Regions from separate parts of the Homo sapiens genome. Here all the other regions are linked to region 1. Evidence: promoter capture Hi-C in 16 types of primary human blood cells and fetal thymus (Javierre and others, 2016). All regions are on one chromosome and are shown on one strand. Each heading gives the region's core, a stretch centred on a gene start or on the middle of the fragment in contact. The rest is flanking DNA. Distances are from core to core; before and after follow the strand shown.

Evidence for each region. The method cuts DNA at HindIII sites, captures the fragments that hold promoters and counts their contacts. A CHiCAGO score of 5 or more calls a contact.
Region 2: a fragment that was not itself captured here is called in contact with the fragment with the promoter of SPATA13-AS1 in region 1 in 1 of 17 cell types (naive CD8 T cells); the score reaches 6.1 in naive CD8 T cells.
Region 3: a contact is called between a fragment that was not itself captured here and the fragment with the promoter of SPATA13-AS1 in region 1, in 2 of 17 cell types (activated CD4 T cells and total CD8 T cells). The highest score is 6.1, in activated CD4 T cells.
Region 4: a contact is called between a fragment that was not itself captured here and the fragment with the promoter of SPATA13-AS1 in region 1, in 2 of 17 cell types (naive CD8 T cells and activated CD4 T cells). The highest score is 6.4, in naive CD8 T cells.

What each region holds. Positions count from the first base shown.
Region 1 is chr13:24,251,328-24,259,265 of GRCh38, reverse strand. SPATA13-AS1 (SPATA13 antisense RNA 1) reads left to right here and starts at 4,827. Exons shown (of 3, transcript NR_046531.1): 1 at 4,827-4,930; 2 at 6,067-6,187; 3 at 6,310-6,517. SPATA13 (spermatogenesis associated 13) reads right to left here. Exons shown (of 13, transcript NM_001166271.3): 4 at 7,404-7,548. RefSeq lists an enhancer at 7,404-7,538. The HindIII fragment of the contact is 5,552 bases long and covers 2,276-7,827 here.
Region 2 is chr13:24,709,939-24,717,876 of GRCh38, reverse strand. It overlaps ATP12A (ATPase H+/K+ transporting non-gastric alpha2 subunit), which reads right to left. Exons shown (of 23, transcript NM_001676.7): 20 at 7,284-7,417; 21 at 6,984-7,085; 22 at 6,468-6,559; 23 at 5,405-6,383. The coding sequence ends at 6,355. Among named protein-coding and RNA genes, the nearest start is that of ATP12A, 34 kb to the right of the region's middle. RefSeq lists enhancers at 1,331-1,975, 6,559-7,758. The HindIII fragment of the contact is 3,927 bases long and covers 1,139-5,065 here.
Region 3 is chr13:23,955,975-23,963,912 of GRCh38, reverse strand. LOC105370115 (a long non-coding RNA gene) reads right to left here. Exons shown (of 5, transcript XR_941753.2): 2 at 6,553-6,616; 3 at 5,175-5,310. Among named protein-coding and RNA genes, the nearest start is that of C1QTNF9B, 62 kb to the right of the region's middle. The HindIII fragment of the contact is 2,526 bases long and covers 3,638-6,163 here.
Region 4 is chr13:23,976,040-23,983,977 of GRCh38, reverse strand. It overlaps a transcript of SPATA13 not described here. Among named protein-coding and RNA genes, the nearest start is that of C1QTNF9B, 83 kb to the right of the region's middle. The HindIII fragment of the contact is 2,603 bases long and covers 3,110-5,712 here.

The sequences.
Region 1 (7,938 bases), core at 3,578-6,077:
CAGCAGAAAGATGCACTGATCTGTTCACAAGAAGAGCCCCCATAAGACTCCCTAAGACCTTTGGGAGCTGTGGTCTTCCCCGTTCTCTTGGGCTTAGCAAGGAGGTAGCAGCATTCCTGCAGGGTCACTTGCACGTGCCTGTTGGGCCCCAGGGGTTCTTGGGAGGCCCAGCACCCAGCTCAGAGTGCACAAGGCCAGGCATGAGACGAGATGCTCACGGGCAGCCTGCAGATTCTTATCAAAACTACAGCTTACCCATATGGATGGTCCACCCCAAGGATGCTAACCTTGCTCCCCAGTGGCTAGCTAGGATATGCTCTCCTTTTATGAATTTCCTGCCCTGACAAAGCTCCTGACGTGGACCTGAGTAGTGGAAGAGCAGTAACCTTGATCGTACGGGGAAGAGGACCTGTTTCTGTGGTAGAAAGTGTTCTGTTTAGAACTCAGCATTTCTTTTAAAATAGTCCTTTGTTTGTTCTTGTGGTAAAAGGGGAAATGTAGCATGCTGGATTTATCACTAAGACATTTATTTTCAAAATTTAAGTATCTTATTCCTCACTCATATCTCTAACTTTTCAGTCTCTCTTTTTTTTTAGCGGAGAGGAGGTCTCACTCTGTTGCCCAGGCTGGGTGCAGTGGTGCGATCTTGGCCCGCTGCAACCTCTGCCTCCCAGGCTCAAGCAATCCTCCCATCTCAGCCTCCTGAGTAGCTGGTACTACAGGAACGCACGACAACTCTTGGCTAATTTTTTTGTATTTTTAGTAGAGATGGGGTTTTGCCATGTTGGCCAGGCTGGTCTCAAACTTGTGGGCTCAAGTGATCTGCCGACCTCAGCCTCCCAAAGTGCTGGGATTACAGACATGAGCCACCGTGCCTGGCCTTTTTTTTTTTTTTTTTTTTGAGATGAACTCTTCATTCTCATGGTAAACTCCGGTATAAACAAGGACCAATTTCACACATCTGTGACACTTTTTACTTGCTTTCTTATTGACAGGCAGAATCCAGAGTTCTTTTTATTTTTTTTTTTTTGAGATAGAGTTTCACTCTTGTTGCCCAGGCTGGAGTGCCATGGCGCAATGTAGGCTCACTGCAACCTCTATCTTCCGTGTTCAAGCAATTCTCCTGCCTCAGCCTCCCAGGTAGCTGGGATTACAGGCATGCGCCACCACACCCAGCTAATTTTGTATTTTTAGTAGAGAAAGAGATGAGGTTTCACCATGTTGGTTAGGCTAGTTTTGAACTCCTAACCTCAGGTGATCCACCACACCTGCCCAGAATCCAGAATTCTTATCGTTTCAGAGCACGTTTTCAAAAGCACTCCTCTCTTCACCACTCACTGGCCAGCTCAGATGGGCTTCTCAGACAGGCTGGTTGGCATAAAATTTGGGTCATGCTGTCCCCTTCACAGATCAAGATGTTATTTATTTATAACCTGCCTTTAAAGGACTCAATTTTTGGTTGTTTCCTAATGAAAAATGTGGATAGGTGGTTATGATTTAGTTTTACAACCTGCCTGCTAGCAATTCGTATTACTGTATCACTCTGATAAAGAATGAGTGACTCAGCCTAGCTCACTAGAGTGCTAGACTGGGTCAATTTGCTTCTCTTTTCTAGCTTGCAAAAAAAGAACTATATTTGCCAAAAAAAAAAAAAGTAAAAATTTAAAAAATCAAATTGAGCAATTACTTCAGTAAGTTAGAAACATTTTTTAAAGCAAGTCAACTTGCCAAGTTTGTGTCCCCTCAAAAAGGGCATTTTCTCTAGTTTTTATATCTAGCTATTATTGTACCTCATCTTGACTTTCCTCTTTTATTATCTGGCAGTATTACTAAATGCTCTAATACGGTGTACTTACTGGTTAACTAAAGGGCTTTCAAGAAATGTAACAGACCAGGTATCTTTTTTTGAAAGGGGTCTACCCATATCGACTGACTTTGGTGCACGGGTGTGCATTCGTCCTTTGCTTGTCTCTGTGAAGTTCCCACTCAAGTCTAACAGCGAAGTAAACTGGACACTCTCCTCTCTGGAAGATAAGAAAAGCAAGCTAATCTGAACTCTGGACAAGATACGTAGAAAGAGAAGGGGAATGGATAATAGAGACAAAGGGAAATTCAAAGTAAGAATTCTGAAAAGCACTCGAATTTGACTTCTGATCAACATAAACAGACCGGTTAAAGGAAGAAGTATGGTTGGAACCCAATGTTAAGTACAAAAAAATTAGGAGCTTAGGTAGGCTGTGATGGAGTAAGTTGTCTCAAATGAAAGAGAAAAGCTTCACTGAAAGCAAAGCAAAGGCGGCAAAGATAATTCCCCAGGAAAATCTTCTAGCAGTGTGGGCATCCTTCCTGAAACCCAAGGAAGGTGAAGCCACAAACACCATCCCCAACAATGCAGTGGTGTTTACAGGTTGTCACTCTTCCCTCCGATAAGGCTCCAATAAGTGCCACTGAAATTCATTATCCCAACTCTATTATCCCAAATAACACACCCAGTAGCCTACAAACATGACTCAGGCCTGTCCCACATGACCTGCCTTCGCAGGCTGTGTGGCTGGCAAGAGGTAAGACAGGTGCTACAAACAGGGCCAGAGAAAAGTGGTGAGAGAAAGGAAGAGCACAGCACGGCGCTGCCAAGTTCTCGGAAGGGAGGGCTCCATTCACCTAGAAAGACTCTGCCTTCATTTCTTTAAAAAAAAAAAAATTAAATGCAATGTTCAATTTTCTATATTTTGAGAAAAATTTAGTTGTGGATACTACTTAATTTGGAGAGTTTTTTATATTATTATTTTAAACTCACATAATAATTGTACAATATTTATGGGGTACAGTGTGATATTTCAATATATGTATACAATGTGGAATGAGCAAATCAGGGTAATTAGCATATCATCACCCCAAGCACTTATCATTTATTTGTATTAAGAACATTTGAATCCTCTCTTCTAGCTATTTTGAACTATACAATACATTGTCATTAACTGTGGCACAGTAGGACTTATTCTTCCTGTCTAGCTCTATTTTTATATCCATTTACCAACCTTTGGTTATCAAGATTTTGAGAATACTTGACCAGGGAGGAGAAATATACTTTCATTATTATTTAAAAGTTGATACTACAGAAAATTTCAAATACACACAAAAGCAGATAATACCATGAACCCACGATTATCAGTCTTTTGCCAATATTGTTTCAACTATTTCCCACCAACTTTTTTGGAGTATTTTAAAACAAATCTCACATATCATATTTTATGCAGAAAGTATTTCACTATCTGTGTATAACAAACAAGGACTTAAAAATAACTGCACTATCTTATCCCAACTAACAAAATTAAAAATAATTCCTTCATGTTGCCAAATATTCAGTTCATCTGAAAATCTCCCCAACGTGTCTCAAAATGATGCTTTTACAGCTGGTTTGCTGAGCTCAATTTGTGGGCTTACTGAGCTGGATGCCATTCTAGCACTTCGTTGGTATATAAACCTAAAACCCTCAGTGCATAGAAAGGAAGGAGTTCCAGGACTGGGATGGAAATGCTAGAGATGGTCTATCATGTGAGTCTCACCACCCCTTGGGCTGCATCTCCCATGTGACAGCAGCTTTTATAATTAATGTACTGCTAATCTCTCTAGGCCAGAGATGCTGCTGAGAGATGGTTCCACTGCAATGCAAACCTGGTCCTCCATGGGGGTGGGACATCTGTCATGGGAAAAAGGTGGGCATAGTTACTATACCACACAGCAGGGCCAGCTTGGTCATCTGAATGGTTTGACCTGTGAAATCTCTGGTTGTGCTGTTAACTGATCTCGGGGTCCCCAGGAACAAAACAGATGAGTGATTCCACAAAGGTACCACAACATTGTGTAGGAGGAACTCTCCAGGGCTGGCAAGCAGAGCCCGACCTGAGCCACCATGACAGAGAAGACAAGGGAGGGCCCTCACTCAACTCCCAGACTCAGGCCTCTTGATGGAGCAGAGCCAGGGAGCCTCAGGGTAGGCATCCTACTACAAGTCTTCTTCCTAGCTTCTCAAAGAGAACTCCTACCATCAGCCTGGTGACTGTGTCCTCAGGACAGGGAAACTCCCGGCGGCAAATGTAAGCAATACTCTTCCCAAGCCTTTCTGAGTAGGAGAGATGGCTTTGGCAAGGCAAGGATTTAGCTCGTGCGCACTCCTGGTTAGGAGCTAATGGCCTGGCTGAATGGCCTGGAGGAATGTGGAAAGAACAAGATGGGCTGAGGATGGGTTTGGGGAAGGAGTATAACTGGCTACCTCAGAATACCCGCAGAGCATGAGATGATGTCCATCCTACATGAATCCTTATTGCAAGAGAGGCTAATCAATCATCATGTGGACATGCTGTCCCAATGTGCAGCTAGATGCCAGTCTTCCTTCCTAGTCATCTTGATACTTGCTCAGTGGGTTCATAAAAAGGAAAAAAAAAAAGAAGCAAGCAAGAAAAAGGCCATGGTGGCAAAAATGGATGCCAAGCCTGGGCTAAACCACAGGAAGTCTGGGCCTTCCCCTCAACAAAGCTGATGATACGGTTCCCCGCAGGAACCAGACAGCCCCTTGCGGAAAGCTGATTGCAGTGGGGCCTTTTCATAATAGAGGGGGTGGTGATTTGTCCCTACTGGAAGGGCCACTTATGCTGGGCTTGGATTTGTTTTCCTGCACTCTGTGGATCCTCTAGAAGGCCCCTATCCTGTCGCAGCATCTCACACGCCATCCAGGCCCAGAACGTCACAGAGAAGGAAGCACATGACCCCATCACACCCAATAACAACCAAATAAAAATGAAGTTACAGAGGCAGCTGGGAGACACACCCAGAAGTTGCCATACTGCCCTGGATGGGACGCAAGCTCTGAAGCAGTGACTAATTTGGAGAGGCTGGCCCACAGCAGAAGATGCAGGGCCGGAAACCAAGGGTAAACATAGAAGCGGCTTCTTAGGATTACTTAATAATATACTTGCAAAATGTTTTCTTCCCACCTAGGAACTCTGCTCTGTTGAAACTGAATTTAGTGCCCAAGGGAGAAGTACTTCCTCCAGAGTTCACAGTCCTGGCCACAGTGAATCAGAACCAAGGCTGGCCATTTTTGCCTCTTCGTACCACTGGGAAAATGAGCACCCACGGAAAATGGGGATGGCTTTTGTGGTCACTGCTACCATATTTCTCAAATGGACTAATGCAATCGCCTTCAAATCAATCTCCATTCCTCTTCCTTTCCCCCCACAAACTGCCCTCCCTCTCTAAGCATAAACCGGAACATAATATGCTCCTGCTGCCAATGGCTTCACACCACACTTAGAACAAGCTCAGCCTCCTCATGACCTGCAGAGCCCTTTCCAGCCTCAGCCCACCTCCCAGCCTGCAACATCCTCGTCTGCCTCTTGCTCCCTGAGCTCCTGTCACTGTGGCCTCCTTGCTGAACCTCAGACACATCATGTTTCCTGCCTGTCTTTGGGCTTCTGGTGCTCCTTCGGCTAGGACTTCTCCTCCCTCGGATCTCTGCCTCACTGCCTCCTACTCACCTGTCCCCAGCGTCACCTCCTTGGAGAGGAGGCTATCTCCCCCACCTGCTCCTACTCCTCACATTACCCAAAGTCATCTTCTGCAGGGCCGTCACTGGTGCCTTGGTGCATCCTACATATTGACTTATGGAATCTGTTCAAATGCTGAAATGTAAACTTTGCATGACGTTTTATTCTCCACAGCATCCCAAATTCTCTATTTCCTTCCTTTCCCTGCCTTGCCATTCTGGTAGGGATGTGTTGCTTAAATCTGCCTCTAGTTAATCAACGCTGAAGAGGCACTGCATGGAACTGGAGGACTAGTTATCCTAAGAGGTCCTAGACTTGGAGGTGTCTGCTGCCACTGATGAGGATCTGGGTGTCTCCTTCTAGGGAAGAGAGAGAGGGTTCATGGAACAGGTGCATCCTGTTCATTAGAGTGTCATTAGAATAACACTCTTTGGAAATGAATGCTCTCTATCCTGTTTTATTTTTCTTTATAGTACTGTCTGCTCTGTTAAATACTTACTTGGCCTGTCTTCACATATAGAAGGCAAGGGTCCCTGGAGACAGACACCCCACCCTTCTTCCTGTTCCAGTACCACCAGGTGGTGGACATATCACCTAAGCTCGGACAGCTGAATCTTCCATCCTGGGACCTGAACCCCTGGGTGAGTGACAGAAAGACAGTCACTAACTCCTAATAAGTTAACTCCTTATTATAACTCCTCCCCAAATAAGTATACACTTCTTCAAGATAGGGTCTTTAATTAAATGTTTTGTATTTTCAAAGCGCTCACTGGATACCCAGATAAAGTGCTCACTGGATACCTCACTAGCTCCTGGGACAGTGCCATGGCCAGTCTCCCATCACACACCTTCCGGTGGCTCCTCCACTCCCAGGAGTGAGCCTGGATGCCATCCCTTCCCTAGCCTGGTTCCCCAGCCATCCCATCAATTCTGGGCACACCTGGCCCCCTTCCAATAAATTCCCTTTTTGCTTAAGACAGCCAGAGTTAGGTTTTGTTGCTTTTCGACAAAAGAACGCTAAAATTAAAACATTTTTAACATAACAACAAAAACCAGTGTTACAGAAAGCAGGGAAAGGCTGTGTGTACACAGGTACGGGGTGGGAGGAGAAGTGCTCTACATTCCTACCACCCTAACAATGCTACTGTTATTTCTGCCTGTTCTTTCAAAATCTTCTGCCATATGGGTACACGTTGCATATTGTTACAAACATGGTATACGTTTTTGATTGAATTGTGTCCCCCCAAAAGATGGTGAAGTCCTAACCCCCAGTACCCATGAGTGTGACCTTATTTGGAAATAGTCTTAGGTAGATAATCACATTAAGATGAGGTCACTAAGTTGGGCCCACATGCAGTAAGCCTGGTGTCTTTATAAAAAGGGGAAATCTGAACACAGACAGACACAGGGGAGAATGCCATGTGAACATGAAGGCAGAGATGAGGCAATGCTCCTACAGGCCAAGGAACACTGAGGGCACCAGACGCAAGGAAAGCAGCCTGGAGCAGACCCTCCCTCACAGCCCTCAGAAGAAACTGACCCTGCTGACGTGTTGATCTCGGATTTCTAGCCTGGGTCTCGGTTCTTTAGGGATCTCCACATGCAGGAATGTATGTACACGGACACCACAGGAGGGGCAAACTTCTCAAACTTAGAGCCACCAGCCTGGCACACAGAGCATCTACCCCAGACAGCAAATGATGCACCATTCTCCTGAGATGAGCCGTCCTCACTCCCAGACAAACGCGCCCTGGCCCAAGGGAGGCGCGAAGGTGCAGAACCTGCTGCCTCAGGTTAGCTGGAAACGGTCAGATGGGCCCATAGCAGCTCTGAAAGGAAAGGGACTCTGAGACTCACCGTTGGATGCTCTCATCTGCCGCCGGCGTCCCACACGGTCCAACCCAATGGGGGTGCTCTGGGAGAATGTGAAGGGCCGGAACCGGGCCGACACAGCCTTGTAGGGTGGCACCTGGTGAGCAGGCATGGGCGGCCTGGAAGCCGGCTGCAAAAAGAAAGCAAAATCTGTGAGGAGGTACCAGGAAGTGGCAGCTCTTGCAAGCACCTCACACGCATAGCGCTCTCACCTCGAAGCCACTCACAGACGTGAAATGGTTTCTCCAATCCTGCCACGAGTTGCAGGCTGCACCGAAGCCCAGTGGCAACTCATGATGCTACAGTTTTTAACAATCCTGATCAGCTTACTGGCCCGCACCCTGCAGCCTCATGTTTCATCTCACTTGTCTGCAACATGCCAATAGGTCACACTAAGGAAAAAGAAGCTTCTGAGAAGATGAAGGCACATTTAGGAAGCAGTGGAGTTGTCACACAGATGCAGGGTCACAAGGGTAAGAAGATGCTTTCCCAGGGGTGGCCTCTGGAGGAAGCCAGGACA
Region 2 (7,938 bases), core at 1,853-4,352, 460 kb before region 1:
GCTCCTGTGTAAGGTGGCTTTCTGCAGATCTCTAATGTAGCCCTTGCTGGGCTGATTAGAGTTCTTCTCCCACAGGCAATCTTATTTCTGTCTGTAGGGATTTGGTCAATGGATACTGCAGCCCCCCTAGGAATACCAAGTGGAATGCTAGACCCAGGTCATGGGGTCTCTGCACCACATTGACTTTGTCCTGGAGGGAGCTGGCTCACAGGGACATGGCTGTGACCAACCTGGGCACATCTTTGGCCCCTGCCCTTTCCTCTGCTTCACCTCTGCAATTGGAACCCTACTCCTCAAGGCTGAGTTGGATGCCTTGCCTCCTGGCACCCTCCACTGTTGCCCACCAAAGATGGTCTCCCTGGAAACCCACAGCACTGTATACCTCTCAAGGCCTCGGCCAAATCCTGCCCCGATTGACAGTTTATTTGCAAACATGCCTGGTCTTCCCTATTGCGTCATTTTGTCCTCTCAGACCAGCACAGCATTGTTCTGCACTGTGCTGTGTACCTAGCAGGTGCTAAATTTGAAACAACGAAAGTGGTTGGGTGTGGTGGTTCACACCTGTAGTCCCAGCACTTTGGGAGGCCAAGGTGGGTGGATCACTTGAGCCCAGGGGTTCAAGACCAGCCTGGGCAGTATAGCCAAACCCCCTTTTTTACAAAAAATACAAAAATTAGCTGGGCGTGATGGAGTGCACCTGTAGTCCCAGCTACTCAAGAGGCTGAGGCTTGAGCCCGGGAGGCAGAGGTTGCAGCTGAGATCACACCATTGCACTCACTCTAGCACCCCAGCCTGGATGACTGAGTGAGACCCTGTCTCAAAAAAAAAAAAAAAGAAAAGAAAAGAAAAGAAAAAAGATTGAAAGCAGAGGCGGCGGGTGCGGGTGGAGTGGAAGAAATCCCTTTGTGTAAATAGAAAATGTAAAAAAAAAAAAAAAAATTAGAAAAAAAGAAATCCCCCAAACTACAAATAAACTCTTGCATTGAAGTGCTTCACTCCACCGAATCTCTATCTACCTGCACAGCAAGTCTGAGGAGGGCAGCTTCTATCCCTTTAAAATTAATCAGGCTTTTACCTTAAATTTCCAGTTAACTTTATCTTAGAACCTCTGGACCAAGAAGATAAAATCCCCCAAGCTTGGTTCTGGTATGTCAGAGGGGAGGGTGGGAAAGTAGGAATGGGGACGGGGAAGAAGGAGCTTGCTGAGAGAACTGGTCTGAAGCAGAAAAAAACGGCATCCCTGCCCAATAGCAGAATGGCCCTGGAGCGTGCGGGGGTTCAGGATCTCGGACGGGCTGGGTGCCTAGCTCCACGGAGGGGCTGAGAAGGACCCTAAATGAGGAGGGAATTGTGTTCTTCTTCCTCTGTTCATGGTGTAAGGATAATTTTTTCATACAGATATAACAGTGAACACATATTAAAGATTTTTTTTTAAAGCTCACCACTTAAATAGGAAACTAGGCAGTTGTTAAAATCTACTGAGAGGAGCAAAGAGGCACGCTTTTATCTGGAATCAGGAATGTTGGCTGATTGTGCAAAGGGAGCAAAACTGGCTTTTCCAAGGAGGAAAGATCTTCACCCACTGGGTAGGATTCATTTGCATATCTATAGAAATACTTTCTGTTGCTCTCAGTTATCAGTAACCTGCAGAGCTGTAAGACAGAACTCAACACCTGCAGGCTATGCTCTAGAGGCATCTATATTCCATCGAAGGGCAAACTCTCCCTAAACCACTTGCCAGATTCTACAGTGGAGCCTCTTAGTGGTCAGGAGAGGTCACAGTGCCAGGAAGTCACTGGGCCTCTAGGCTTAACTTCCTGAGTGTAAAGCACGGCTGATGCCACAGCTGACGGGGCCGTTGTGAGCGTTAATAAGATCATGCTGTTAGGAACCCAGAACATAATAGATACTTAACAAATATCAGTGATTGCCGCTGTCTTTTTTTTTTTTTTTTTTTTTTTTCAGATGGAGTCTTGCTCTTTCACCCAGGCTGGAGTGCAGTGGCGTGATCTCGGCTCACTGCAACCTCCGCCTCCTGGGTTCATGCCATTCTCCTGCCTCAGCCTCCTGAGTAGCTGGGACTACAGGTGTCCGCCACCGCGCCCGGCTAATTTTTTGTATTTTTAGTAGTTACAGGGTATCATTGTGTTAGCTGGGATGGTCTCGATCTCCTGACCTTGTGATCCGACCGCCTCGGCCTCCCAGTGTTGGGATTACAGGCGTGAGTCACCACGCCCAGCCAGCCACTGTCTTTTTAAGAGACATTAGATGCCACCAGTGGAATGATGATAGCAGAATGAACAAATGTGGAGAACTCATGATCTTTGTAGAGTCAGATGCACCTGTCCAGGCTCTTAAGGAGTGCAGCCGTGTACATTGAGACATATATCTTGTTCTAGACTCCTGGCGAGATGACACCTGCTTGAGCATCTCCTGTCTCTATCTTGATTGTGATGTGGGCAGTCAGGGTGGTTGTGAGCCTTTCTAGGAGCCTGAGTTGAACATTTATGTCTCGAGTCACCTAGAGGCAACCCCCCTTAAGAAACTCCTCCATTGAGTCTGTGTATTCCATTGAAGGTACACACACCAGTTACCACAGCCTGGTCTGCCTCCCATCCTCTACACAGAAGCCAAAGTGATCTGAACATGTCAACTGGATCAGGTCACCTCTTTTATTAATTGTCTTCAATAGCTTGTTTATTCGTTTTTGTAGAGATGGGGTCTCCCTACGTTGCCCAGGCTGGTCTCAAACTCCTGGTCTCAAGTGATTCTCCTGCCTCAGCCTCCCAAAGTGCTGAGATTAAAGGTGTGAGCCACTGCACTGGGCCTAATAGCTTGTTTTGAAATTAAATGCAACCTCCTTCATTTGGTCTCTGAACCCCTCTAGGGTGAGATTCTTGCCTGTCCCTCCAGTTCCCCGTTCCAAGGTCTTCCCTGGCTGTGTGTTCCTGCTAGGCCCCTCTGACCTCTCAGAGCTTTTGCTCATGCTGTTCCCTCTTCCTGTCATTCTGTCTGCTTCTTTGCATTCATCTCCTCAAAAAGGACTTTGCTAGGCCGGGCATGGTGGCTCACGCCTATAATCTCAGCACTTTGAGAGGCCGAGGTAGATGGATCACCTGAGGTCAGGAGTTCAAGAGCAGCCTGGCTAACATGGTGAAACCCCATCTCTACTAAAAATACAAAAATTAGCCCAGCGTGGTGGTGGGTGCCTGTAGTCCCAGCTACTGGGGAGGCCGAGGCTGGAGAATCACTTGAATCCAGGAGGCGGAGGTTGCAGTGAGCTGAGATTGTGCCACTGCACTCCAGCCTGGGCGAGAGTGTGAGACTTCGTCTCAACAACAACAACAAAAAGGACTTTTCTGACTACCCTATTTAAAAGGACTTAGCTGACTGCCCTCAATCCTGCCACCTGATTATCTAAGCCCCATTATGCCTTTTCAAGACCTTATCACAATTTGTATTTTCCTTTCACCCCTCTACTGGTGTACTGGCTCCATGCTCTATCTTGTTCTGGGCTGTGTTCTCAAGCCATGCAGGAGCACTTCCTACATCTTTGTCGAATTATGGAAAGCTCTTTGGTTGACTGAGCATTCACATCTTAATGATAGGCAAGATAAATATTCTTTTTCTATTGCTGGTGGGGGTGTAAACTGATACAGCTTATCTAAAGATAAATTAGGCAATGTGTGGCCAGAGCCTTAGGAATGCTCTGAATGCCTTGATTCCAATTTGAGGAATCTTCTATAAAATGGAGATGTGTGGTACAATATTGAGGATAAGATGCAGCCTTTTTGAGAAAGATGCCTAGTAGGAAATTAATGAGCTATCTCACCGTGCAGATATAGTTAGCGAAAGCACTCTCAATCTACAATACTGTGCAGTCATTAACACCATGTTTTTGATGTTAAATAAAAAAGGCAGAATTGAAAACTTTATTTAATTTTACCTAAAAATAAATATATGTGTGGAAAAACTCCAAAGAAATGATTACTCTTTCATTTAGGTATATGACTACATAGTGAGATTCAGGGTGATTTTAATTTACTTTTTAATCTCATTTATTCTAAATTTTCTATTTAAGAAAATAGCTCATTTAGAGCTGCAATTTTATAATCAGAATAAATTAGATTGTTTTAAAAAGCAAAGACTCTAGGAATTCAGCCTCATGTTTATGTCTCTGAGATACTCTACCACATCAATTAGATTTAAATTGACATTTTTTTTTCCTATAATAAAAGACATCTAGGCTTCAGAGGGTCAATTAAATAGTCCCTCCAAAAACACCCTCTGAAATGGATTTTATTGCCTTTTTCTGTCTACAACTTAATAAAGCTACTCAATAATGCTAGTGTCTTTTCTGGGATTTCTTAAGTTAGTTATTTGTTAATTTTATAAATATTTGAGTGTCAACTTTTTGCAAGAGTAAATAAGCACAAATAGGAACGTTATTTCATACATAGTTCCTGCTATGAAGAGGCTTCTAATTCCAAGTTAACTCCTTTCAACCCTAATCCAACCCCAAGTTAAACCTTGCAGCTTTGTGCTAAATTGATGGCCTTGTCCTGCTGGCATTGGCAGGACCAAGAGCTGCCAAGCATTGCAGCCATGAGCACTCAGGCAGCCTGTCAAGAAAGATTAAGTAAGGTCAAGTTATTCTTAGCTGAAGTCTAGAAAGCATTAGCTGCCTTGTCGAGACTGGAACGAGAAAGCCATGACCACACTGCCCAAACCACTCTGGGAAGTGTTTGCAGTTCACTGGAACTACTGATAGATTAGTCCAATGATAATTGTGGCTGAACACAGATTACAAATCTCCTGAGGACAGCAACATTATTTTAGCTTACATGGCTGCACACAATATGCACTGGAATCTATATACATAAAGTTACAAGGATAGTCTCCTTCCCTCTTTCCTGCTCCTACATGTGACCCCAAGAGCATGGTGACTCTAAGGCTGCCTTTTCCTGTCCAGGAGATGCCAACCTAGAGCCATCAGCCCCAGATGCCCCCGAGTGAGACTGTAATGGAGAGAGGTGACGGGGCAGGCCACTAGATGAGGAAAGCTTAACCAAACATAATTCTCACGTTCTGTCAAATGAGTTAGTGCGAGGTGTGCAGTTGATGGAAAGGCTGTAGAACCCTTCTCTCGAGTGCTGCTGCAGAAAGACGGGCCCTCCCACAGGCGTCCGACCAAGAATCGAGGGCACATCAGAGGCCCTGGCTGGAGCCCTGGGGTCATGAGGAAGAGTTTGAAAGAAAAATCCTACATTTCCAGATCTTCCACAGATAAGTAAAATGACCAGAAGGAGCAACGAAAAGAAAATAGGAAATCATATCTTATTTTTTTGTCCCATGCTCTTCATTCTAGAAAAATGTGAACCAATTAGAACACCACAATTAAACCTGGGTTTATAAAACATCTTTTAGTTAAAAATGAGGCCTTTCCGGGCCTGTCAACATGGAAGTGTCACACATGAATACACCTAAGTTAAAACATGAAACATGACTGACAAAACGTTATTGCTGGAGAGCACCTGGCAACTGTTTTACAAGAAATAAATATGACTATTGAAACCATAACAGCTCTCTACTAGGGTTGAATCCTGGTAAAGAAAGTCCCCTTGGATTAGCTGAGCATTTTGAGTTAGGATATGCAAAATGAACTGGGAGCTCAGTTTTGGAGGAGCTGATGTAGGGGTGGAGGGCGACGGGGCATAAAGGGCTGGGGAGATGACCAGAGGTGGGATGGGGTGGCGTGGCCAGGGAAACTGTGGCAAGGGCCTTCAAGAAGGACGTCTCAGAGTTAAACGAGTCAAAGCTGAGGTCATGCGTGCTGCTGTGATGTAAACCTGCCGCCACTTCCATCTCCTGCAGACCCTCGGGTGAGTTGGCCTTTTTCGAGCAAGGAGACCATGAAAACATACCTTCTCAGGGGATCTGCAGAAATCTTAGGGAGGTCATGGGGCCTTTAATAGGGTGTGGAAAGGAGTTCTGAGCAATCCTAGCTAGAGCTTAAGGCAGGCCCCAGTAGATGCCTGGGTTACACAAGACTATTAACATCAAGGAGTTTCAAATACACATAAACACATTCTTCCCTATACCATTACCTCGAAATGTACGTATTTTTTAATGAGGAGATGGAGATAGAAAAGAAAATCCTATATAAAGAGTTGAATTTCAGTTTTAAAGTGCAAAACATCAGTGAGCATCCTGCATACAGCTTTCTGCATGAAAATTTCCTCTTGTCTGAATTTTGACGATGTCTGCACTGCAGGGGAATAGCCCAGCAAACGGTCAGAAGATGAACAAGTGTGCCCCAACGTGCTGCTGAGAGACATAGGAAGGGAGGTGGTCTTAATAATACATGTTCTTATCCCACCAGCCTGTAGAGGTAGAAAAAAGTACATCAGAAATGGAGAGTCTGTTGAAGTGGGTAAACAGAGCCTCTAAAATCATAGGCTACTCACTTCCAGGGTAGAGCCTGATGAAGAGCTTCCGCACCTCATCATACACCCAGATCAGGATGGCGTGCGGCACAGCCACAAACCAGTACTGAGCCCTGGAAGCAAAGGGATGGAAAGTGAACCCTGACTCATCCACAGGGATAGCCCAACCCTGCCCAATGGGAATGGGGCTTCTCGTTCATTTGTCTTGCTTTACTGCAAAGAACGACAAATCCACGAGGTCCCACAAAATAAAGGTGGAAAGCTCCTTGTTTAACCTGCACTGTGACTGCTAGAAGCAATGTCTGCCTTTGAAGCAACCTGTTGGATGAGGATGAAGGCCGGTTGGTGAGGTCTAGAAAACCCATTTCCACTTCTGGAAAATGCAGATCAAAGCTTTGGGCTCACAGAGCATGGGATCAGTTTGACGTCTTTTGAAAGACTTGGGGAAGAACCCTGGGAATCCTCAGGTTTATTTAGGCTGCGACAGCTCAAAGCAGAGGCTGGCTCTTTCCTCCATGCTGTTGAGGGTGAACTCACCTAAGCATGGTGAAACTCAAGGCTGTGACACTTCCGAGGCCATAGGAGAGGATCAGACCAATGATGATCTGTGAGGTGATCCCCACCCAGATGACTTTATTTCTGCAAGACACACAAAAGCAGACAGACTTGGGATTCTTGTGGCTTCATGATCATACACCCAGCAGACCATGCCACCAGAAAAATCAATGCCTCTGGGGTTACAAGTGTGGCCAGAACTCTGTCTTGTGAAAAACAAATCATCATCATCCTTGCACGGCAGGCCCAGGGCTGCCCCAGGAGGCCGGGCACAGGCAGTACCTGAAGAGACCCTGCTGGAAGATGGAATTCCTCCGGGTTTTCCTGATGATCAGATCTGCTATTTGCTGGACTAGGATGCCAACAAAGAAAGCCGTGTAGCCCGTCCATTCTAGGTATTCCCTCTGGTACCTTGTCTGTTAATGGGCAGAGAAGGAAGAGACCTTGAGGCCTAAAGGAAAACTTCTAGGAAATTCCAATGCAGTTCTCTAAAGCTTCATGTTCTTTCCACACCTCACCCGGACTGAGAATGGACCACCTTCTAGTGTTTGGAAAGAAACATTTTTCTTTCTTGAACCAGCTGAGTAGAGAAAAATGTTAATTTTTTAAAAAATTATCATTACTATTATTTCTAACACAGGCAGGGTCTCACTGTGTTGGCCAGGCTGGTCTCAAACTCCTGGGCTCAAGTGATTCTCCCTCCTCAGCCTCCCAAAGTGCTGGGATTATAGGCATTAGCCACTGCACCCGGCCTGAAAGATGTAAATTTATTTGGCCGCACTGTGGGTGTGGCTGGGCTGGTCACTCTTCTATACCAATGGCAAAGCTAAGGTAAAAAAAGGGACCTCTTGTCATCTAGCCCAAGACAGGAGGCTGTGCCATGAGACCTGGCAAAGGCCAAACACGTGTCAGCAAGGGGGCCCTGAGCCCTATTAAT
Region 3 (7,938 bases), core at 3,651-6,150, 300 kb after region 1:
AACAGCAAGAAAGAGAAAAAAAGCAATATAAGTACTCAACAAAAACAGCATCTGCAGCAACAATAAAAACCCAGAGTGCTGTATAGTGCTGATAGTTATTGAACACATATTCATATCTTTGGAATAACAGAACACATTCTATTCAATAGCTATTATTTTGTCAGTCAGAACAGGGAACAGATGGCCCCTTGTGAGCGTCTGTGGAACAAATGTCAGTGACAATGGCAACTCTGAGTCCACAAGAAGAAGTGAGATTGTCCACTTCATTACCTTTAAACAGGCATGGGAGCAGGAGAACTATTTAGACATACCGCTCCCCAAAAAGTTTTAAAGAGTTTTCTTCTTAAGGTGATGGTAAACTTTATGTGAAAATCCCCTTTTCTAGGAATGCTGTCAAAATGAAAGATTATTGGGGTTTATTCTAGAAATGTGAAGTTAATGTTTAAAAATCAATCATCGTGGCCAGGCGTGGTGGCTCATGCCTGTAATCCAAGCACTTTGGGAGGCCGAGGCAGGTGGATCACCTGAGGTCAGGAGTTCAAGGCCAGCCTGGCCACTATGGTGAAATCCCATTCTACTAAAACTACAAACATTAGCCGGGCGTGGTGGTAGGTGTTCCTGTAGTCCCAGCTACTCAGAAGGCTGAGGCAAGAGAATTGCTTGAACCCAGGAGGTGGAGGCTGCAGTTAGCTGAGATCATACCATTGCAATCCACACTGGGCAACAGAGCAAGACTCTGTCTCAAATAATAAAATAAAATGAAAATAAAATCAATCAATGTAATTCATCATATTAATAAAAGAGAAGAACCATATGATCTTCTAGGTAATACTGAAAAAGTAATTTATATAATTTGAGATCTGGTCATAAATAAGCAAAAACTCAGTACACTGGGAATAAATGAAGCATATTTACAAAAAAAACTAGAAAATCATCATGTTGTTTAATGGTGAAATATTGAATGATTTCCCTGTCAATTAGGAATAAGAAAAGGAAATCCACGATCACCTTTTTCTCTTCTTTTTTTTAAACAGGGTCTTGCTCTGATGCCCTGGCTAGAATGCAGTGGTGTGATCACAACTCACTGCAACCTCCACCTCCCGGAGGTAACAGCTTGCAAACATTCACGAAATAACAAAAGACTAGATATAAAAATTCTCCTTTGGGATGTTTAAAAATCCCCAAATTGATCCCATGAGTATATTTACTCTCATTACAAATATATTTATCTATAACTGATCCTTAAAATTACAAATAAGCACCAAACAGATTTGTTGCTTTTCTGCCTTTTAAAGTGTGTAGAGCAGCAAGCTTTCCTGAGAGCACGAGGCAGCCTTTAATTGAAGGTGCTAGGTTCAAGGCACCATCTACTATCATTTGGGATCACAGGAACATGGGTATACAAATGGCACCAAGGTCCAGAAAACGTGCCTGGGTCCAAAAAAAGGGGAGGCTCTTTGCAAGTCAAAGATAAAAGAAAAAGTAGCATCATCTCCGACAGCTGACCCCGAGTATCCAGCTACAGCATCACAACAACTTGTGAGATTAGTTCCTAAAAGAGACGTAGACTTGTCCCAATACAGTCTGTTAAAGTTCTTACTAACTAGAGAAGCCACAAGTAACAGTAAACTGATATTTTATTAAAGTGACTGCTATATGGAAGTAAATATCTAAATGTTTTAACATGTTTTACCTGTCATGTAAATTAATTTTCACAAGCCCGATTCAATTAGCTCATCATAATTCCTAGGTTTATTTACCCCAGTTCAGCTCATCTTGACTTAGATTCTTGGACCATTCTTCCGAACTATTTATTTCATTATAAAGTTCCTTTTAAACAATTGTAAACTATTCATAATAATAAAGAATTATCTTGCACCAGGAGGTTGAGGCTGCAGTGAGCTACTATGATTGTGCCACTGCACTCCAGCCTGGGTGACAGAGAGTAACACTATCTCAAACCTTTTTTTAAAAAAAGTGATTAACTCACAACTGAGAAAATAAAAGGAAAATGTCATTATTGTGTTAGAATAGAGAGTAAGAATATAGACACCTATTCTTCCATATAGACCAGACAGCTCAATACCATTTCACTCAAAGAAGAAAAAAAGGGGGGGAAATGGTAGGTGTGGAGGCACAGAGGGCAGAGTATTAAAGCCTTTTACTGAAATGACTCCAAAGTTCAGTGTGGAAGTAAAGTTTCTACATTTAAAAACTTTACATAAATTATATGAATTACAATTTTCATAAAAGTCAAAATGAAAGGTTCTGCATAGGATGAAAGATATGCCTAAGCAACATTTCATATTTGTACAAGGCCATTGAATGCCACAGATACTAGTAACACATACAAAGCTTAAGTCTATGGGACACTGAACAAAGATTTCAGTCTGGTATTCTGTAAGTCCAAGATTGTAAACTACTCTTATTCTACAAAAGCTGTAATGATGTAATAGAATTTTTATTTTTTAAGAATTGAGACGAGGCTGGGTGCAGTGGCTCATGTCTGTAATCCCAGCACTTTAGGAGGCAGACGTGGGTGGATCATCTGAGGTTAGGAGTTCGAGACCAGCCTGACCAACATGGGGAAACCCCATCTCTACTAAAAATACAAAAATTAGCCAGGCGTGGTGGTGTGTGCCTGTAATTCCAGCTACAAGGAAGGCTGAAGCAGGAGAATTGCTTGAACCCAGGAGGTGGAGGCTGCAGTGAGCTGAGACCACGCCTCCGCAACAGAGCAAGACTCTGTCTCAAGAAAATAAAAAAAAAAGCAAAAACCTTTTATAACCCTTTTGAATTTAGTCAACGTTCACACACAGATTTTCTTTTGCAAGATTAATTTTTTAGAAATCTTCCATAACTTGTTTAAACCATTTTATCTAGTTCAAAGCAATCTAACTCCAGGAAAAAAGAATTTACATTTTGATGACATTTGCATTTTACCAATAATCTTTGTTTTTATTTCTCAAAGATTAAAGTCACATGAACCAAAAGGTACCATAGCTTTTTTTCCCCTTTAAAAATATTTGATGCTAGTGATTACCCTTCTTAGGGTCAACTAATTGGAGCTTTTCATAGACATCACACACACAACACATGTATAACTACACAGAAGATCCAGTAGCTATAGGATTTTTCATTTGCCAATCTCCCAATTGGATTACTGGCCCCTAGGTGGAGCCCTTTAAGAGCAAGACTAGGAAAGCATGCAGTTTCTAGGGACCTAATAAACAGGTATAGCTGGAAGACAAAAACAGATTTTTGAGAGGGATTTATCCTCCTCTAATTCCTGGGCCTCCATGAGGAAAACAGAGGTCTCTCCCACAGTGGAATCAATGGCAACTTTTCTGTTTTTTTCCAAGGAGTCCCAGGCCATGAGAAATTATCTTAGGGCCTCTCATACGTGCATTAAAAGTGGCAAGGCAAAATGGAGAAAAATAATTCAGTTGATTGAGGAAAAACCTTTCTCCAGCAAAACAAGATCCAGGAAGAGAAAAACATAAAGGCCTTTTAAACATACCTGTAACTTGGATATTCCCTTTTAATTAAGCTGAGCACTCTTTAAGAAAAGCCTTTTAAATTCCTTATTACCTGACTTTAGTCACGCCACGTGGCCAATATTTCTGACTTTCAAGCTTTACCAAAAGTAACCTCCTAGATGTTCAGAGCAAGGAAAATTCAAGGTGATTTGTGGAGGGGAAGAGAATCAACAAATGGCAAAGGTCAAGCAGATATCAAACCAGAAAGGACTCATTCCCTAAGTCAGGACTGCACCCAGGCCACCACTGTAAAATGGCAGAGGCTAAAACAGAACATTGCCACCTGGTTACAGGTCACACTCCCAAGGAGGTTGGTTAAACAAGGTGGAGGGCTGCAGCAAAGGTTTGCCATTGCCCAGTTTGCCAGGCTGGCTTCAATAGCAGGCCTATGGAGTCCTGGGCCTACATCACATCCTAAGATGCCCCTCTTCCCTGATAGAACCATACATACAAAAGTCTTTCAAAGCACACCAGATTGGCTATGGCTTGACCAACTTCACAAATCCTTTTTCATAATTAAAACTTTACTGAGAATATAAACAGTGATAGTTGTCACCCTGGCCTGGTTAAACATCTTTTCTCCACACCGTCAGCAGTTAACACAGCCCTGCATTTTAAGCTGTTTGGAAACTATCAAGAGGAGACTCAGCTACCAAGCCAGGAGATAAGGCTCTGTTGTGCAGAGCTTCTTGTGAAAATGTAACAACCACTAGCAAGTTTTCCTAACTACCGAGATAGGCAGGCCTATCCCTTAAAGGAGTAAAACATATTTTACTTCTAAAGAGCTCTTGGCCTGAGCAAATCTAAGGAACACCTACTACATGCCTCATGTTTCCCATGACTTCTAGAGTTTACAAGGACAGCTTCAAGACCAAACCACCTGATGACATTAGTGTTTATGCTTTTTAAAAAACCTGAATTTAAAGGAAAACAGACCAAAAAGAATGCAATGGGCTACCTAGGCCAAGTCTATTTTCTCATTAACAGGATGATTCATCTTCAGAGCTCTTACATTTCACCAAACCCTAGTCTAAGAAAACCCTGAGTGAAACTAGCCAACATTTAGTTAAGACAGTCTGATTATCCTTATTTGCATGACAGCAGCTCATATGAAGAGACAAATGTTCCTGAGATTATTACAAATAATCGCCCTTCAAATACATGCTATAAAAAATGGTATTAACATTTGCTGAGTGACTGTGCCCCATGCATCATTCTGGTACTTTCATACATAATCCTCAGTTTAACGGAATTTTATAAAAATGATTTAAAAGTCACTTTACCTCTCAAATCAACAAATTTGCATTCATTAAACAGATAAGTAAAACGTAATTCATATGTATGTATTCTATTTTTTTCTTAACATTGTTTTGAGCTTTCTCTCTCCAAAACTACCATAAGGGCATCAAAACTCAACATCAAGAGTTCTATCCTTCTGATTTTCCCACTGAAGGATGACAGAAAAAGCTCCATAGCTGTCATCTAAAATCTATTAGTAAGTACTTTGGCTGAACCTTGAAACTAAGATGTCACGTATCAATTACACAGGAATGAGCTGACATTTGCTTCCTGCCAGGAGCAATGCACAGATTCAGAGAATGGTTTCTCTGAATATATAGAAAATAAAACATTTACCTTTGCAGGGATCCGGGACTTCTGAAGCTAGTATTAAAAGCTGTATGTTAAAAATGAGGACTTAGATTTCAGGGAGTCTGTGGAAGTTCTAGGCTTCTTCAGTGTGGGGTCTCATTAGCCAGTCTGTGTGAATGTGCTGAAACAAAGAAAGGATGCTTTCCCTTACTTCTAGCAGAGTTTGACAGAAGTAATGAAGGAGGTGGTGATAAATCATTAATTCTCTCCTAATACCTTCAGAAAAAGACTGAAATGCTAATACTAAAAGGGCCCTTATTTGCCATGTCTCTCCAGCCCTTATTTTAAAAACAAGGAAGCTGAGGAAAGGCAGACTGTGACGTTAGTGAGAGCTTCCAGACCCTTTGTCATCCTTTCCCTTCCTGTATGCCATTTCAGATATGCTGTCCACCTGGAGAAGATTTGCTTGGTGGGACTGGGGCTTGGGTTCTCTGCAGCTGAGTCAAAGCAAATGTAAATACGACGCGTCTTACATATTTGACCCACACCAGCACACAACAGAGAATTACTGAGAGTAAGAGTGTTTCCCACTCTCAGAGAGCAGCTGATCCTTTCCACCATGGCCTCCAAGGAATTCTAGGTAATCCAGATGAACTGGCATTCATCCCAAGTGCAATTTCCATCACTCAGGACAATCTGCTAACAAAAATGCCCTGTGCTTCAGAATTAGCTTCGGCCTTTGCCAGCTAAGAACAGCCAGCCACAGACTGGCTTACTTTGAAAAATATAACTTAGCTATGATACAGACACTCTAATATAACAGTGGTCTACAGTCTTAACATAAAATAAAATTAAGTTGAAAGAACTTTCCTACTATGTGAGATCTGTGATCCATATTTAAATATGAGAGGTTTATAGCATACATACACATATATACACACACGTATATATCTTATTCTTAAATTAGAAAAAATATACTAAACTATAGGTACATTTCCACATATAGTATAATAAGAACATTTATTTAATAAGCTTTTCATTTGTTTTTGTATAGTAATTAGGTTGATTCATCCATCTTTCTATATTAACAAGAAGAGCATATGCAATCCCCCTGAACAACATTTCTCCAGGAATAAAATTAATTATTAAACTGTCATGAAAACAACGAAGTTATGGAAGGCAGGGTTCCGGAGACTGATGTGTGAGCAGGAGGGGCTGAAGGAGAGGCAGTGAGTCTAAATAACAATGTCAGGAGGCTTATCTCTAAAGTGAAGGGGACGAATCAGAAGCCCCGACAGAACAGGATGGCCCATGTCCAGCCCTGCGGTGAGCACACATTGTGGAGATCCATCCACATCAGGCTCAATGCGAACATTAATCATCTATGCGCCTAGATCATACAAATGTTTGATTTCTCATTTACCTTTCTGTAAAGGCTCCTTTGAGTTTATCCAGGCAGACAGATTTTAAAGACAGTTTCTCTTCTGCTGTACAAATGGGTAAAGAGAGACAACAGCTTTGGCACGACTCAAGGGCTTTTAAAAATAAATTTTCAGCTGGGCATGGTGGCTCACGCCTGTAATTGCAGCACTTTGGGAGGCGAAGGCGGGCAGGTCACGAGGTCAAGAGATTTAGACCATCTTGGCCAACATGGTGAAACCCCGTTTCTACTAAAAATCCAAAATTTAGCTGGGCGTGACGGCATGCACCATAGTCCTAGCTACTCGGGAGGCTGAGGTAGGAGTACCGCTTGAACCTGGGAGGTGGAGGTTGCAGTGAGCCAAGATCACGTCACTGCACTCCAGCCTGGTGACAGAGCAAGATTCCATCGTCAAAAAATAAAATAAAATAAATTAGTAAATCTAACTTTCATCAGTGATTCTACATTGTTTGTTCTGTTTCTCTAGCATTAGCTACAAGCCATTTTCCATTCTAAGAACACATTTAGCCTATGAGAGAGAACAGCTTTTTTCTTACATACTTGTATGTTCAATTTTGTACTTTCTCCAATTCACTCTTCCTTAATATTCTTGATTGGACATGTGCACTTCTTCAGCCTTCTATAAAAATGAGAAGTGGGCATATGGATGAATTACTAATACAGCAAGCACATGTTGCATTTTTATGCCAACACCACCACCAATAGCTTGCCACAACCAGCTGGAAATCCTCATTTAAGTCCTCTAGGTGTTAGAGCACTTGGGTCACTGTTTTAAAGTGCACACGGGGATAATCTCCTAACTCAAAAATTCTTTAAATTCTTAAAAAGTTAAAACTTTTAACATAAAAAGAGCTTCTAGGTATCTAGAAAAACAGCTAAGTGAGTGACAATGCCAAGAGCCTCCTCCTCACTAAATGCCCTTCCTTAAAGAGCAATGAAAAACGTTTAACAGCAAAAATGCCAGCAAGGAACATTAAATCTGATGTGATACAATGCAGGGTGTGCCTTTTGGCATGTACGGTCAGACACCACAGCAACAAACTCCAAACCACGCAAGGCTGAGTCAGATCACAGGTCACACCTCTGCATGCTGATTTTCCCTAGTTCCACCTGAGAGAAGCAGTTGAGAATACAGGGCAAAGTACTTTATTTCTAAGCCTTAGCCTCCCTGTCTGTAAATTATAATCAGACCAACTTCACAGGGTTTTTATGAGCGTCAAATACAATGATGCAGATAGTTTCACTCCAATGGCTTGCACAAATAATGGTGATGGTATTATTATGCTTTTCCCCATGCGTCTACCCAAAAACTTTCCCCACCGTTTTTTCCCCATCATCATTTCCCCCGCTCCCTGGCCAGCCCCTCCT
Region 4 (7,938 bases), core at 3,162-5,661, 270 kb after region 1:
TAAGCATGGATAATGCCATGCAGGCAGAAAGTTGCTCAACTTACCTTCACGGCCAGGATGTTTGTGAGGCCTACGCTTTGCCATCTGCACGGTGTTGCCATTTCATTTTCATCAGGCCTGTGGTGCTGCACAGGCAGCGAATATGACTCCCATCACTCTGCAGCTCAAAAAATGCAGATAGACAGGTCACCCCTAGCTGGAACTAGGCTTCATCTTCCCTTGTCAGAGCTTGACAAGGTTTGAAGCTGGCCCTGCAGAGATGAGAGTGAAAATAAATTATGAAGCAAGCTAGATATAGAATTCAGTTCTGGATGTTTTTTAAAAAAAAAAAACAACCAACAGAATATACTAGTGTAAAAATAAATGGCCACTATTTGCTCAACCATTTATTTGTGCTAAGAGAAAATACTAATGAGAATAACAAAGCAATTGAAACAGGTCAACAGGTTTTGTCTTCAAAGTCACAGATCAGTGTCCACTTTTTAAAAATTCTCTGCTCTGGGCTCAAAATTCACAGGATGAAGTCCTGACTCCAGTACCTCAGAATGGGACTGTGTTTGGAGATAGGGCCTTCATAGCGGTAATTGAGGTATAATGAGGTCATATGGGTGGGCTCTAATCCAGTATGACTGGTGTCCTTATAAGCAGAGATTAGGACACAGACAATATAGAAGGATGACCACGTGAAGACGCAGTAAGAAGGCAGTTGTTTGTGAGCCAAGGAGCGCGGCGTCAGAAAAAACCATCCCTGCAGACTCCTTGATCTCGGACTACCAGCCCCCAGCACTGGGACAATCAAGGTCTGTCACTTAAGCCCCCAGGCTGTGGTGTTTTGTGATGGCAGCCCGAACAAAGACACTCTCTCCCAACCCCTCACTCCCATTTTTGAACAGTGGCTGGTTTTCGATCAACTTCACTTGACTCTTCCTTCTCAATCTCACTTCATTTTGCTCCAGGGAGCCCCTCTCCAGCTCCTCCTTTCACTGGCCCTGCCCCTTTGTCTTTTGAAAGAGTTTCTCTCACCTTCTTCCCAGACGGCAGAGCAGCCTTGAGGAGGTGAGGGAGAGAAGGGATCTTGCACCTAGCACTCCAGGGCTGGTGGGAGACCCAGCCTCCCGAAGCTCACACGTGTACCTGGTTTGCAATGGCAGAATAAAAATCATGTGACACGGTCAGAAGATGCACCTCTTCCTTTCTGGGTGACCCTGTCTGACTCGTTCAACTTCTCTGAGCTTCTGTTTTCTCACATATTTAAAAAATGGTGATGTGAATTCCTGAGTGGTTGTTGTAAGGCTCAATGAAGATAATGCATTGAAAAATATTTCATATGCTAATCACTACAACTCAGTTTTTCTACCTATGAAATAGGTACTCCCTAGCATTTCACAGTAGAGTTTAATGAAAAAAAAATCAGCAAATAAGCAAAACTTCTGTGACTCAGGATAGTATCTATAAAAGTATTAGTTCTACTCTAGTTTTCATCAGTCCGGTAAAGTTTATTTTTGCTTTTTCTGCCAGTTAATATTTATGAAGAGTGTTGTATTTAGTATTATGAAGAGAATTCTAAAGACACAGAAGACCTGGTCCTTGCCTTCAGGGATTCTGCAATCTATTTGAAAAAATAAAATTTTAACAGTAAAATAGCTTATAAAATTAGTTCAAAGAGGTTTCCCAGGCTGCAGTGGAAAATGCATAGCAAAGTCTTCATGCAGGACCAGCCAGGTCCATACCTGAACTTTCTAGGTAGAAATTTTTCCTATGACCTCTCTAATGTGGCTGCAAGTGGAAAGTAAGAAATCTGACAAAAAATTTAAAAAGTTAATAAAAACTTAAATGATAACTAGTGTATTTTGCTTTAAACAAATCTAATGCTATAGCGATTTATTAAACACAGTACTTTAAAACACACACATCTTTACATGTTTTAAAATCATGAATAACCAAATTTAAATTTTCTCATTTACTTCCCAGGAACCCCTGGAAAAAGTATTATTGACAATGACAACATTCCAGTTGGAAGAACACATCTTCAGAATGCAATTGGTATCTGATTTTAGAAATACGTGACTTCAGATCTCAACCAAAAAGAAAATTGCATCACAGTTATTGTTTTTAAGAAATTCACTTACCATTATGAATGATCAAAAAATATAGTCATTCAGGTAGTGAGGATTTAATGATCAAAGGGCGAATGTTCCAAAATATATGTCATAGCAGTGGCTTTTGGATCTTGAGCCTGACTGGCCGTGAGACATGAGGCTTATCACCGCACTTCTCTGAGTGCTGGACTCCTTCTATTTTAAATGGGTCCAAAAATGCCTGCCTTGAAAGAGCAAAACCCACAACGCAAATGAAGTTCCAAGCTCAGCTGTGGTCTGTGTACCTGAGGCCCTGGCCAGTAGCAGGGGCTGTCCTGGTGGCATCTCACAATGAGAATGTACCACAGTGGTTTACAACTGCTTCCTAGCATTTCCGGCTCCCGAAACTGTGAATTTTTCTAATTCAGTTTTGTATGTTCTTCTCACCACTTATCTCTCTGCTCTCAAGTCTAGCACTGTACACAGCACATAGTAGAGCCTCAGTAAATGTTTGATGAATGAGTATCTGAGTAAACAAATAACATAATTTGTAAAATAGAAGTACTATTGTAGCTACAAAAAAACTGCTCTAAAAAAGATCATTCGAACCCCTTGACATTTTTTTTTTCCTATGGTATATGGCTAAAACAAGTAATCTTTGACATAGTAAGACAAAATCACCTAGCACATCTCCATGTATGAAAATACCCATAGAAATAAAATGAGGCTGATGCTCTCTAGTCCTTTGTGAAAGTCGCCATCTTTCCAACAGTAGAACTGTCTGCATTTTTAGTGCTGGGCCTAATATTTAGTACTGCTACCGGCTTTATATATTTTTCTTTTGCAAATGTTTTTGGTTAGTATGTTTGAAAAGCTGAGGAACAATTCGTTTCGTGGATCCAAATCTGGTTCTGTACTTTACTTTTTAAATGATAATTAAGGAACTCCCATCAGTAGATGCTACCTTAAAAACGAGGAAATACAACGTATTTTTTAAAAAACTTTGTTGGCCAGGCGCAGTGGCTCAAGCTTCTAATCCCAGCACTTAGGGAGGCCGAGGCGGGCGGATCACCTGAGGTCAGGAGTTTGAGACCAGCCTGGCCATTATGGTGAAACCCTTTCTCTATTAAAAATACAAAAATTAGCCTTGTGTAGCGACGGCCGCCTGTAATCCCAGCTACTCGGGAGGGTGAGGCAGGAGAATCGCTTGAACCCGGGAGGCAGAGGTTTCAGTGAGCTAAGATCCGCCACTGCCCTCCAACCTGGGCGACAAAGTAAGACTGTCTCAAAACGAACAAAACAAAACAAAACTTCGTTAAGTAGGAGTACTATTCTTGTTCATGTCTTCCATAACACCACAATCCAAATATTTTCAAAAGCAGAGCATTAAGGTATTAAGTAGGTGATAGTTTATTCCCTAACCAAGTGACAGAGGCTGCCAGCGGACTGTGGATTGACACCGACAGACACACACACCAACGAAGCATCAGAGTGGGGGCTCACGCAGTGACGCTGAGCACCGGGAGATTTCGGCCTCCCCCGCGGCTCCTCCGTCGCCCGGCAACACAGCCACGCTGCGGCTCGGCCCCTCCCCCGCTGCCATGGCAACGCGACCGCCAGGCTGGCTTTGTGCAACTACTGCCCCGGCGCCCCTATGCGCTCACCCCTTGAGCCTGCTGGGGCCGCGGCAACTTTTCTTTTCTTCTTTTTTTTTTGAGACGGAGTCTCGCTCTGTCGCCGAGGATGGAGTGGCGCGATCTCGGCTCACTGCAAGCTCGGCCATGACAACTTCTCTAACCTCACCGCACCTATAGCTCTATCCCTTCTCCTACCCGGAGCCGCTGATCATCAACTTTCACCCCCCACTTCAGGAAAAAAATGTTCCACGGGCACAGGATTTCGGCCAAATGCTGCTTGGCTCTACCTTCTCCAAAAGTGCGGGCGAGGTGACAATATGTAGAGAAATCCCACTTGCCTGTCTCAGCATCCCTCCTACGTCCTCAGAGGGTCCTTGGAGGGATCCCAGCATCCCGCTCCGAGCTGGAAGGGGGAGGAAGGTCACGGAGAAGCCGACTGGAAACTGTCCCGGGTGCGCGCCGCCCCCATGCCCTGCGCCCTCTTCATTTCCTCGGCCAGGGCGGGACCTCCCAGCCGCTGGGCCCAGGACCGCAGCGAATCAGTCTCTGGCTCCCCGCCCAGCAGAACTCAGACAGGCTCTGGACGGCTGTCCGAATGCCGCGTTTCCCTGGCGATGAGCAGTTCCGCATCACCCTCTGCGGCTAGCTCGGCTTCCAGGGCCGGGGCTGTGCTATTGTTTGCTGTTCTTCGTGGGTAGGACGGTGGGGGGCCCGGGCTGAGCCCGGAGCAGGAGGACCTGGGGTGAATTTCTTGCAGGCCTTTTCTCTCCCTTCTCCCAACCCCTTACTGTTGCATATTCATAAGAAGGCGGGGTCGTTTCCCATCTCCTTTAAAATTTCCCAGGCTTGAGGATCAGCGGAAAAGAATTGGGGTATAATTCTTTTCCCCTGACACAGACAAGCAAATACAGGATTCCTGTTCACAATTTCTTCCTCCACCCTCAGGCAGCAAGGACACACACACACACACACACACACTCACACACACACTTCTTAATTTCAAAGAGATCCTGACTGAAGTGGGAATCAAGTTTCCAACACGTGAACTTTAGCAGATACATTCAAACCATAGCAGGTGGTAAAATTATCATGACTGGAAGATGATATAATTATATCCCAAGATAATCAATTGTTAAACTATTAGATACAAAGGAAATTAGAAAGTAACAATATATAAAAGATCACTATGTGGGCTCAGTAGCAGAATGTAGGTGACAGAATTCATTGGTGAACTTGAAGATAGACCAATAGAAAGTATTCAATTGAAAAACAGAGGGCTGGCATGGTGCCTCATGCCTATAATCCCAGCATTTTGGGAGGCCAAGGTGAGGCCAGGAGTTCAAGAGCAGCTGGGAGACATAGCAAGACCGCCATCTCTACCAAAAAAAAAAATTTTTTTAATTAGTTGGGTGTGGTGCTGCATGCTTGTACTCCAGCTGCTCCAGTGGTTGAGGAGGGAAGATCGCTTGAGCCCAGGAGGTTGAGGTTGCAGCGAGCTGTGACTGTACCACTGCACTCCACAAAATGAGACCCTGTCTCAAAAACAAACAAAAAAAGACAAATAGAGAATGTTAGGAGACCTGTGAACAGCACTCCAGCCTGGGCAACAGAGAAACTCCATCCCTGAAAAAAAAGTAAATATAAATAGATGAAACAGTCGAACCAAAAGACAGAGATTAGCAGGTGGAATATATTAATAAAAACAAGAACGTATGTGCTGTCTACAAAAGATGCTATTTAAATGCAAAAGTACAAATGAGTCGAAAGTAAAAGAATGAAAAAACGCATACCATGGAAACATAAGAAAGCATCAGAAAGCTGAAGTAGCTGCATTACCACAAAGAGATTTTAAGAAAAAAGTGGTGCTAGAGATAAACAAGATCATCTCATAATGATATAAACCCAAAGTAAGTAGAAGGAAAGAAATAATAAAGGTAACAGTGGAAATCAATGAAACAGAAAACGGACACACTCAAAAGTCAATGGAATCAAAAGCTTGCTCTCTGAAAATTGATAAACTTTTAGCCAACCTGGTCAATTAAAAATCAATGGCCACAGGCCAGGTGCCCAGTAGCTCACGCTTGTAATCCCAGCACTTTGGGAGGCCGAGACAGGTGGATCACTTGAAGTTAGGAGTTTGAGACCAGCCTGACCAACATGGTAAACCCCATCTCTACTAAAAATACAAAAATTAGCCGGGTGTGGTGATGCGTGCCTGTAATCCCAGCTACTCCAGAGTCGGAGGCAGGAGGATTGCTTGAACCCAGGAGGTGAAGGGATGCAGTCAGCAGATACTGCACCACTGCACTCCAGCCTGGGTGACAGAGCTAGAACCTGTCTCAAAAAAATAAATAAATAAATAAAAAAGAAAAGAAAAAGAAAAAATTATCAATATCAGAAATGGGAGAGAATTATTGGTACAGTTCTTACAGTTATCAAAAGAAAAATAAGAAAAAAAATTGTGAGCAACACTATGCCAAAAAGTTCAATAATTTAGATAAAAAAGATTCTCTGAAAGACAGAAATTACAAAAACAGACTCACAAAAACCCAGAAGACCCAGATTGCCCTACAACAAATTACTATTACGATTCCTATGAAACAGTGTCTCACTTTTTTGCCCAGGCTGGACTTCAGTGGCCTGACCATGGCTCACAGCAGCCTGGACCTCTTGGGCTCAAGTGATCCTCCCACCTCAGCCTCCTCAGTAACTAGGACTACAGGCACACACCACCAAGCCTAGTTAATTAAAAAAAAAATTTTTTTTGTAGATACAAGGTCTCCTTACAGTGCTCAGACTGGTCTTGAATTCCAGGGCTTAAGCAATCCTCCCACCTTAACCTCCCAAAGTGCTGAGCTTACAGGTATGAGCCACTGTGCCCAGACTATTAGTAAAAATTATTTTTTAAATAAAAACTTTTCGACAGAGAAAACTCCAGACTCTGATGACTTCATGGTGAATTTTATGAAATATTTAAGTTTTTTGAAACATTTAAGTTTTAACATGTTAAGTGAAAAAATTATGTTTTAACACATAACCATCTCTCCCAAACTATGTCAGGTAAAAGAAGAGGGAATACTGCTCTACTCATTTTATAAGGCCTGCAATACCTTGGTTTAATACTTGACAGAGACATACTAAGAAAACTATAGACTAATATCCTTCATGAAAATAAATGCAAAAATTTTAAACAAAATATTAAGAAATTGAATCTAGCAATTTTTTTTAAAAAAGTACCATGATCAACTGGTGTTTCTCCAACAAATGCAATGTTGCTTTGATATGAAAAGCAAATAATATAATTCACCATTTTAATAGAATATAGGAGAAAAATCATGTGATCATTTCAACAGATGCAGGAAAAAACTATTTGACAAAGTTCAACACCAATTCATGATAAAACTCTTGGCAAACTCAGAATAGGATGAAATTTCCTCAACCTAAAAAAGGGCATCTGTAAAAAACTTAGAGCTAACATCATATTTAATTGTGAAAAACTAAGTGCTTTCTACCTTAGAACAGAAACAAGACAGAAATATCCACTCTTACAAAGATAGTTCAAAAAGACAAGAAAAAAAAAACACAGTTTGTAAAGGAAGAAGTAAAACTGTCTTATTTACATAGTCAACATAATTATGTATATAAACAATCCTAAAGGAATATACAAAATCTCCTAGACCAAGTGATTACAGCAAGATCACAGGATAAGAGATCAATATGCAATAATCACATTTTATTTCTGTATATCAGTAGCAAGCAATTGAAAATGACATTTAAAAAAGAAATACGGTATGTTCTCACTCATAAGTGGGAGATAAGCTATGAGGATACAAAGCCATAAGAATGATACGGTGGACTTTGGGGGCTTGTGGGGAAAGGGTGGGAGGGGGATAAAGGTTAAAAGACTACAAATTGGGTACGGTGTATACTGCTCAGATTGATGGATGCACCAGAATCTCAGATACCACCACTGAAGAACTTATTCATGTAACCAAACACAACCTGTTCCCCAAAAACTTATGGAAATAAAATAGAAAAAAAACAAATACGTTCAAAATAACAAACATATTCAGGAATAAATTTAACCAAAGATGTGGAAGATCTATACACTGATAAAGAAATTTTAAAAGACCTAAGTACATGGAGACATAGGTCATATTTATGAACTGGAAGACTCAATAATGTTAAGATATTAATTTTTCCTGAATCTATGATAGAGTTGA